2 separate regions of the Homo sapiens genome follow, and region 2 is linked to region 1. Evidence: promoter capture Hi-C in 16 types of primary human blood cells and fetal thymus (Javierre and others, 2016). All regions are on one chromosome and are shown on one strand. The core of a region is centred on a gene start or on the middle of the fragment in contact, and the rest is flanking DNA. Distances in the headings are between cores, read along the strand shown.

Region 1 (4,705 bases), core at 2,128-4,627:
TTTAAGGGCCAAAGAAGGGATTAAAGAGCCTTCTTTTGTAACTTGGTTGAACGGCAAAGTTCGTTGACTGCCCATTGTAGGAAAGGATGTGGTCCAAGGCTCTTCTCTTTTAGTTTCTTCTCCTTGAATCCTACCTTCTTTGGGCTGGGCCAGGTTGGACTTGGATCTCTCTTCTGCTCTCCTTTTTTTAACCCCTTGATTTTAGGCATCGTTTCTGGGCCAAGCCTTGATCTTGCATTTTTACATTTGTGGATATTCCTTCTTGTCAACTTCCAGAGCAGGAGTCTTCTTTTCAGTGTCCGGATGTTTGGAATACGGACTCTGCTTATGAGAAGCAAACACCAGAGAGGTAGAAGACAAGGCTGACTGCAGACCTTCCCTCTTCTAGCCTTTGGTCACATTTCTTTTGCCCATGGTTTGCTACCTCTGGCTCCTTGGGCCACACAGACACCCTGCCATCCTGCTCTTTTATACGTGAGAAGCATTCAGGATACTTTCTTTCTTCTCACATAAGGGGATCCAGTATGGCAGTTACTTTTAGCCTCCTCTCTCTTGCAAACAGCCACTATAGAATCTTGGGCCTTTGGGATATCCTGTCAGCCATGCTTGGGTGCAAGGGCTAGGCAAAATGAAGAATTTAAGCATTTAGTGGAGAATAGGAAACAGGCAAGTTGAGGGTACAGGGAAAAAGAGATTTGTGTGGATTTTTTGGTTTATGTGACAAACAATTCGACACACTTATTTTGTATTAATAGAACATAGAATTTAATATTTTTTATGTAGCTAGTCCAGAACTTCCATTACTTCTGTACACTGAAGAAAATAATCATAATATTCTTTTTCCATTATGTTTTATGTCATATTACCTCATTTATGTTATTCATTAGTATGTCTGGTTACTTTCTAGGAACCCTATTCCGCCTAGGTCTGGATTTTCTTGTGTCAACTATAACTGAGTTTGTTCTCACCCCAATGTTGTGTCTTTTAGCAAATTGAAAGTGTAAGCCCAATACAGCTTTTCTAGCTTCTGAAAGATTTATGTCACGTTTTGTATCTTGTCATGTCTATAGACATTTGTAACATTTGTAGTTTTGGGCTACTATACACCTATTGGAATTTTTCATGCATTTCAGAAAAACATTGTATTATTTATTTATTTATTTCGTGATACAGAGTCTCGCTCTGTTGCCCAGGCTGGAGTGCAATGGCACAATCTTGGCTCACTGCAACCTCCGCCTCCCATGTTCAAGCCATTCTCCTGCCTCAGCCTCCCAAGTACCCTGGACTACAGGTATGAGCCACCACGCCCAGCTAATTTCTGTATTTTTAGTAGAGATAGGATTTTACCATGTTGGCCAGGTTGATCTCTAACTCCTGACCTCAAGTGACCTGCCCGCCTCGGCCTCCCAAAGTGCTGGAATTACAGGCATGAGCCACCATGCCCGGCCACAATATTTTACAATTTAATGTCAAATTTGAATGTGGGCTGGGCGCAGGGGCTCACGCCTGTCATCCCAGCACTTTGGGAGGCCGAAGAGAGCAGATGACTTGAGGTCAGGAGTTCAAGACCAGCCTGGCCAACTTGGTGAAACCTTGTCTTTACTAAAAATACAAAAATTAGCCGGGCATGGTGGCACACGCCTGTAGTCGCAGCTACTCAAGAGGCTGAGGCAGGAGAATTGCTTGAACCCAGGAGGCAGAGGTTGCAGTGAGCTGAGATCGCGCCACTGCACTCTAGCCTGGGTGACAGAGAGAGACTCCATCTCAACAACAACAACAACAAATAATTAAATGTTCCTAATTGTAGGTTTGTTATGTTCTGCTATCCTGTCTTTTTCTTTTTCCAATGAACAATTTATGAATATTGACACATTTTTAATGATGTGGAAATTTTCAGAATTGTAAATGTTTATGTATTTAAAACTGGTTGGAAAAGTACTGTCTCAAAAATGTTAATAAAGCTAGCAGTCTAGCTTTATTAATATTCATTTATTCAATAGCTCTGACCTTTCTTATCCTTGGTTTACCCAGCTCTGAAATGGTTGCAAAGATTACTAAAAATATATGTAAGTTACTTTCATAAATTAGAAACTAAGAAGTAAAAATTACTTTCAAAAATCTGCCATTGGCCAGGTGCGGTGGCTCAAGCCTGTAATCCCAGCACTTTCGGAGGTCGAGGAGTGCTGATCATGAGGTCAAGACATCGAGACCATCCTGGCCAACATGGAGAAACCCTGTCTCTACTAAAATACAAAAAATTGGCTGGGAGTCGTGGCATGCACCTGTAGTCCCAGCTACTCAGGAGGTTGAGGCAGGGAGAATTGCTTGAACCCGGGAGGCGGAGGTTGCAGTGAGCTGAGATGGCACCACTGCACTCCAGCCTGGTGGCAGAGTGAGACTGGGTCTCAAAAAAAAAAAAAAAAAGTCTGCAATCATAATTACTTACAGTTTAATCTGGAATTTAGTACTCTATTCTATTTTCAAAGCTGCTATAGGGTATGCTGTCCTTTGTAGTTCCACTTTTAGCAGAATTGAACGTTTTTCTAACGGGTACAGATCTTTATGCTTGAGACTGTGTGGAAACCTTGGACTTGAGCTCCACTCTCAGTTATTTTTTGTATTTGCTAAAACTTAAATACATTCTGTCCACCTCTAGCATGATACCTGGTATGTGATAGGAACCCAATAAAAGTTTGGCTTTGATGGGAGTGTATGTTTCTACATTATTTTTGGAGGGTAATTAGGTAGTATCTTTCCAAATTTTAAGTTTGTATGTGTTTCATTCCAGACATTCTACTTCTAGGAATTTAGATATAGTTGTATATATGTATAAGGATGTTCACATTGCAGCATTGTCTGTAACAAGATTTGAAAAGAACCTGAAAACAACTAAAGGTCCATTAATATTGAACTGGCTAAATACGTTATGGTACTTTTAATTATGTTACTCATAAGCAAGTAAATTGCCTATAGCCATTAAAAATAGAATCTATGTATGCATAAATTGACTGGGATAATCAGTGTTTAAGGTATACTGTAGAATATGTACAGTTACTCCTTTTGTATAAAAATAGAGGATATACATATATGTGAAAGTAAATATGTATACAAAATATGCAAAATGTGAATGTAAGCGCTGGTAAATATCTAGAAGAACACACAAGGAACCGGGGCGTGGGGCGGATCGGGCAGAGGGACTTCCCTGTGCCTCACTGTTTGAATTCTGAAGGGTGCATACACGCCCTTATTGACCTGTGCTACTGGCCTCTGGCTAAAGAGGGCGCTGTAGCCACCAAAGTCCTGTTTACAGATCAGGAGTCTCAGTAAGCCAGCGTGGCTACGCCATCACGACCGGCGGTGGCACATGCGCAATAGCGAGACGCTGGAGCGCGGCGTAGGTGGCTGCCGAGTCTTTTCCTGTTTAGGGTCTTATCCTGGCATTGAGGGCGCCGGACTGGCGCTTTTGGCCGACTTGGCATTGGGTGGGCGGCTTCTTGGGACCCACATGAGCCAGTGGCATCATCCCCGCAGTGGCTGGGGCCGGAGACGCGACTTTTCAGGACGCTCCTCAGCCAAGAAGAAGGGCGGAAACCACATCCCCGAAAGGTAGTATGTCTTGGTCCCTTGGCGTGGCCTTTCCAGCTCGTGGCTTCTGGGTCTGGGCTTCATCGTTTGTGGTCTCTGCCTCTCGCCGTTGCCATCGCAAGCTTGACTTGTCCGCCGCTTGCTTTGAGGCTTTGACCCTCTGCGCCACCCGCTGTAGCTGAAAGGGGCGATGTCTGTGATGTCCTGTGATTTCTCCATATTCTTGTAAAAGGGAGGTTCTGGCCATTGCTCTTAGGTAAAATACGGAAGGATTGCTTTAAGGTGGGACTGTTACTGTTGGGGACACTCCTTAATTCCCAAAATGGAACCTCCTCAATTCCTTGTTACGTTGGCACGGAAAGTGTAATGGTTTGAGTTAGGAACCCAGCAGTAGTAGCGCCCTGAGATCTCACATGGAAAGTTGGTTTGTATTGTTTCCAGAAATCACAAAGAGCATACTTTGTTACTTCCTAACAGGCCTCATTTGAAAGATAACTCCTTTATACGTACAAATGATTAATTTTGAGACTTTGCACGTAGGTGCATTGAACTGTTTTTACTCCTTGAGACCATCCTCCACCATCTCATACCTCAATAAATCCTCTTCATTTTATCTACTATCTTTTGACTGTCACTTTCTGTCAGTACCCTAATACAGGTCTTGCCTGACTTATTGCAGTGGGGTTCTAATTAGTGAATCTCCTGTTTGTTTTCTTCCAATCCGTTTTTTTGTTTTTGTTTTTGGGATGGATTTTTGCTCTTCTCCGCCAGGCTGGAGTGCAATGGTCCAATCTCGGCTCACTGCAACCTCCGCCTCCCGGATTCAAGCGATTCTCCTCCCTCAGCCGCCCAAGTTGCTGGGATTACAGGCGCCCGCCACCACACCCGGCTAATTTTTTTTGTATTTTTAGTAGAGATGGGGTTTCACCATGTGGGTCAGGCTGGTCTCGAACTCCTGACCTCAGGTGATCCACCTGCCTCAGCCTCCCAAATTGCCGGGATTAACAGACGTGAGCCACCGCGCCCGGCCAGTTCCTAGCATTATTAAGTGAAGTTCACAGTCCCTCTTCTAGCAGGTTTTCTCTTAAAATATGAACTTGAAGTTTCCTACTAATTGAAC
Region 2 (4,780 bases), core at 1,680-4,179, 91 kb after region 1:
ACCTTGATGTGTGAGTTGCTGTAAAAGGTAAACTGAGTCCATTTCAGAGCACTCTTTAGTGGGAGAGCATATAGTAAGTCATCTATGTACCGAATGAGAGTAGAATTTTAAGGAAACTATAATGTCATTAAGTCCTGATGCAAGGCCTGGGAAAAATACGAAGGGGCTTCGGTAAACCCTTGCGGCATCACAGTCTAGGGGTACTGCTGATTTTTCCAAGTGAAGGCAAATAAGCATTGACTCTCTTTACGAATTGGATTGCAAAAAGAGGCTGAGCAGAGATCTAATATTGTGAACCACTTAAGAATCAGCATGTATACTGGATAATAAAGTATTAGGATTTGGGACTATAGGAAACCTTGCTACTACAATTTTGTTAACTGCCCATAAATCTTGAATAAATCTTCAACCTCATCCATTTTTTTTTTAACCAGTAGGATTGGAGTGTTACAACGGCTGGTGCATAGAATTATAAGTCCCTGTTTAATTAAATCTTCTATAATTGGCGAGAGCCCTTGAATTGCTTCTAGTTTTAGTGGATATTGGGTAATTTAGGCAAAAGTTTAGAGTGGTCTATTTGGACTTTTATAAGTTCCACACTTTAAATTCTTCCTGTGTCAGTTGAGGAAGAGACCCATAAACATTCATGTATTTTTGGAAGATCAGGCATTACAGGCCTGAGTTTCAATCTTATTAATTTCTGCCTATAGAGAGCATAACAATTCTGGTTCAGGAGAATCAGGAAACTGATTCTTACTCCTTCTAAGGAAAATTTTACATCCTCCCCACTTTTAAAAATTTTTTAATTTAAACAATTTCAATTGTTTTGGGAGTACAGGTGGTTTTTGGTTACATGGACAAGTTCTTTACTGGTGAGTTCTGAGATTTTAGTGTGCCCATTTCCCAAGCAGTGTACAATGTACCCAATAGGTAGTCTTCTATGCCCTTTCAGCTTTGAAAGTAAATCTCCCTCTAGCAAATTTACTGGAGCACTATCATACAGTAAAAAAGTGTGATTTTCTGAAGAGTGCCCCAAAGTCAATTGGACGGGTTCAGATATGGGAACCTCTTGAATTTGATTTGAAACCCCAACCACAGAAATAGCCTTTTTAACTCTGAGGGATCTGTTGGCGTATGAAAGTGTGTTTTACGGTAGTGGCAGATAAGGTAGCTCTGGTATCCACCAAGACTATACATGAGTCCCCATTTATTGTAACCTCTGTTTCTCCATATTCTTTTAAGGGTGTTATGAGGAGCAATATACTGGGAAATCCCTCAGAGCCGCTTCAATGCTGATTATCTTCAGGAGAGCTAAGGTCTCTTGTGCTCCCTCTAGTGGTGAAACAGGCTGGCCTAAAGGGAGGGTCATTGGTGGGCTGGTATAAAAGGGCACAATCCCTATTCCACTGTCCTGGTTGTTTGCAATAAGGCAGACATCTTAGGGTGAAGAATTTCTTGGTCTAATACCTCTTGGTTGTGATTTAAAATGAGAATGAGAAGATCCCTTTGGTCTTGGCCCCTGTAACTGTTGTAATTGAACAGTCATAAGCTTGTTAGCCTTTTGGGTTTTTTCTTGCTCTACAGTCCTCTCAAAATGTTCAGCTAGAGCCACCAATTCAGTCATGGCTGTAACTTCCCATCCGAGTTTATGTTTTCTAATTAAATTTCTAAGTTCAGGATGAAGTCCCTTTATAAATAGAGTAGTTAATACCATTTCAGTCCCTGCAGGAAATACTCCTTGCTGGTACTCTGAGCCCAGAATGTTTCACATTATTTCTAAGCAAGTTCTGTAATCTGACACTGGTTCATTCTTTTTTTGGTTTACAATATTGTATGATGTACCAATCAACTTTTGCGGAAAAATTTTAGCACTTGAATTTAAAAGATTTTCAGCAATTTTTTTTTCCTTCTTTTCTTTTGAGATGGGGTCTCGCTCTGCTACCCAGGCTAGAGTGCAGTGGCACAGTCATGGCTCACAGTAGCCTCAAGCTCCCAGGCTCAGGTGATCCTCCCACTTCAGCCTCATAAGTAGCTGGGTCTACAGGCGTGTGCCATCATGCCCAGCTAACTTTCTGTATTTTTCGTATAGACAGGGTTTTGCCATGTTGCCCAGGCTGGGATTTGCAGCAATATTTCTAGCTCCTGTTGGGCCTTCTCATGAGGAAGTTTTGTGGGGGCGGGCAGTAGGGGCAGAGTCTTTAATATCTTCCTCCGGTTTGTTCCATTCTGCTGCTGCCATCCATTTTTGAGCTTCACCAGGCCTCCATATCATATGAATAAATTTATATGAACCTTTGTCAGGGAGTCCTGGATCATAATCTCCTATGAGGATTCTACACTCCTCAGTCAATTTTTGAGGATTCTCTCCTAGATCAGGGAAGTCTTCTACAATAGCTCTAAGCTCAGTTTTAGACCATGGAGTGAAAGTGGTTATAGCAGGCAGGCCTGGATAATCAGAAGGTCTTCCTTTGTGAGGCGTACATCTAATTCCTCTTTTTTCATCATCTTGAGAGTGAAAGGTCAATTTAGTAAAAAGGTTAGTAGACTCAGAGTACGTAGGTAGAGATGCATAAAGAGAAGAATCAGTTGGGGTTAGTTCAGTCAGAGTACAGTTCTCTTTCATCATGTCCTTAGCCTGTTACTTAAGCTGTTCACTTGCTTTTGCGAAGAATCTTTTAAGGAGGCAAGTTTTCATTCATTTTGTCTTTTAGAGGCTTCCATGTACCAATGAAAGACTATATCCCACTGTTTTTGTGGGGTTTTGACCCCCTTTTTCTAATATGCCATGCAAATAAACAATTTTATACAAATTAAAACTTCCCCATTGTGGCCATCTTTTCTCTAGTAAGGTTAATCTATTTTTCTAAAAATGCACATATTCTGGGTCCATAATTTTACATATCAAATTAGATGGAGTCCCAGAAGGTAGAGTCCCAGAATCTTTGGATTGAGACAAACCCATTATCAAAAAAAAAAAAAAAAAAAAAGTGCCTAGTATAGGTCTGAGGCTCTAACGGAACCTAATCCAGTTAATTATTGATTCAAATTTGATCCTGAACCCAGTCCACTTTAATATCGCTCCAGTAAAGTTGGAGAGCTTCAATTAGAATACACATTAGTGGAGCTCTGAATCCAAGAGAAAACGCATCTACAACCTCCAGTTACAATCAAGAGATCAGTGAGCACAACTGGCCTGGTCACCTGGTGTTCCTGGAGGTCACCAGAGTTTTACTTCAAATTGCACTTCCAACACCAGATCTGGTAAAAGAAAAACCTTAGACAAACTAAATTTAACAGAATTTAATTTTGAAGAAAAAAAAAAAGACAATTCACAAATCAGGCAGTCCCTAGAATCACAGCAGATTCAGAGCAACACCAGAGATGCTATGTGGTCGGAAAAAACCTTATGAATAGAAAAAGTAAAGTGACACGCAGAAAGCCGAAGTGAGGTACAGAAATAGCCAAATTGGTTACAGCATGGTGTTTGCCTTATTTGAACATGGTTTGAACAATAGGCTGCCTGTGAGTCACTGAAGCATGGCTGCTGCGATTGGCTGACGCTCAGCTATTGCTACAGAAGCATCCTTCTAAGTTAGGTTTTCAGTTGGCCTACCTACAAAGTTAGGTTATGGTTCATCCTTAAGGACTCAAGTATGGGAGTGAGGAGGCTTTCTCAGGCCAGATTTTAGTTTGATTTAATAGTTCCAAATTTAAGTCAGTCCTTTGCTCCAATATCTGATCATAGGCTATTAGAAGCAGCCAGGCCATTTCTTGAATGCTTTGCTGCTTAGACATTTCTTCTACCAGATACCCTAAGTCATTACTCTTAAGTTCAGCCTTCCACAAAGCCCTAGGACATAGATACAATGCAGCCAAGTTCTTTGCTAGGGCTTAACAAGGGTGACCTTTGCTCCAGTTCCCCATAACTTCCTCATTTCCATCTGAGACCTCATCAGGCTGGCCTTTACTGTACATATTTCTGTCCACATTTTGGTTACAACGACATTACAAATCTCTAAGAAGGTCCAAACCTTTTCTCATCTTTCTGTCTTCTGGGCCCTCCAGACTCTTCCAACCGCTGCCTCATACCCAGTTCCAAAGCCACTTCCACATTTTCAGATATCTTTATAGCAACGCCCTACTCCTCGGTACCGACTTTCTGTGATAGTCTATTTTGCGTTGCTATAAAGAAATATCTGAGACTAGGTAATTTATAATGAAAAGATGTTTATTTGACTCACAGTTTTTCAGGCTGTACAAGAATCACAGGGCTGGCATATGCCTCTGGTGAGGGCCTCAGGAAGCTTTTACTCATGGGGAAGGGTGAAGGGGGAGCAGTTGTGTCACATGGCAAGAGAGGGAACCAGAGAGATGCCAGGCTTTTTTAAACAACCAGCTCTCACACGAACTAATAGAGTAACAACTCAGTCATGAGGAGGGCACCAAACCATTCGGGAGGGATCCACTTCTTATGACCTAAACACCTCCTACTAGGTCCAACCTCCAACACTGGGGGTCACATTTCAACATGAGATTTGAAGAAGACAAATATCCAGACTATATCCACCTTCTAGAGGGGACAGGGCTTCTGCTCCTGGAAATTCAGACCCAGGAATAGGACTTGGCATTCTTCTGCTCCATCTTATGCCCACTCCCCAGCCACACAGAGCTACTTCTACTTCTTCAATACCTGAAGCTCTCTTTCTGCTTGAGGCCTTTGGGCATGTTGTTCCTTTTGCCTGGAACATTCTTATCCCCACCCCATCCCCTTGTTAGTTCA

Evidence for each region. Contacts are between HindIII fragments. The CHiCAGO score rates a contact against its expected background, and 5 or more counts as called.
Region 2: a contact is called between a fragment that was not itself captured here and the fragment with the promoter of DUSP11 in region 1, in 1 of 17 cell types (megakaryocytes). The highest score is 5.8, in megakaryocytes.

Annotation. Positions count from the first base shown.
Region 1 is chr2:73,778,775-73,783,479 of GRCh38, reverse strand. It overlaps DUSP11 (dual specificity phosphatase 11), which reads left to right and starts at 3,377. Exons shown (of 9, transcript NM_003584.3): 1 at 3,377-3,606. The coding sequence starts at 3,506. RefSeq lists enhancers at 3,406-3,475, 3,556-3,605, 3,736-3,885. The HindIII fragment of the contact is 6,659 bases long and covers 1-3,709 here.
Region 2 is chr2:73,687,431-73,692,210 of GRCh38, reverse strand. No RefSeq gene overlaps it. Among named protein-coding and RNA genes, the nearest start is that of NAT8, 47 kb to the right of the region's middle. The HindIII fragment of the contact is 2,755 bases long and covers 1,552-4,306 here.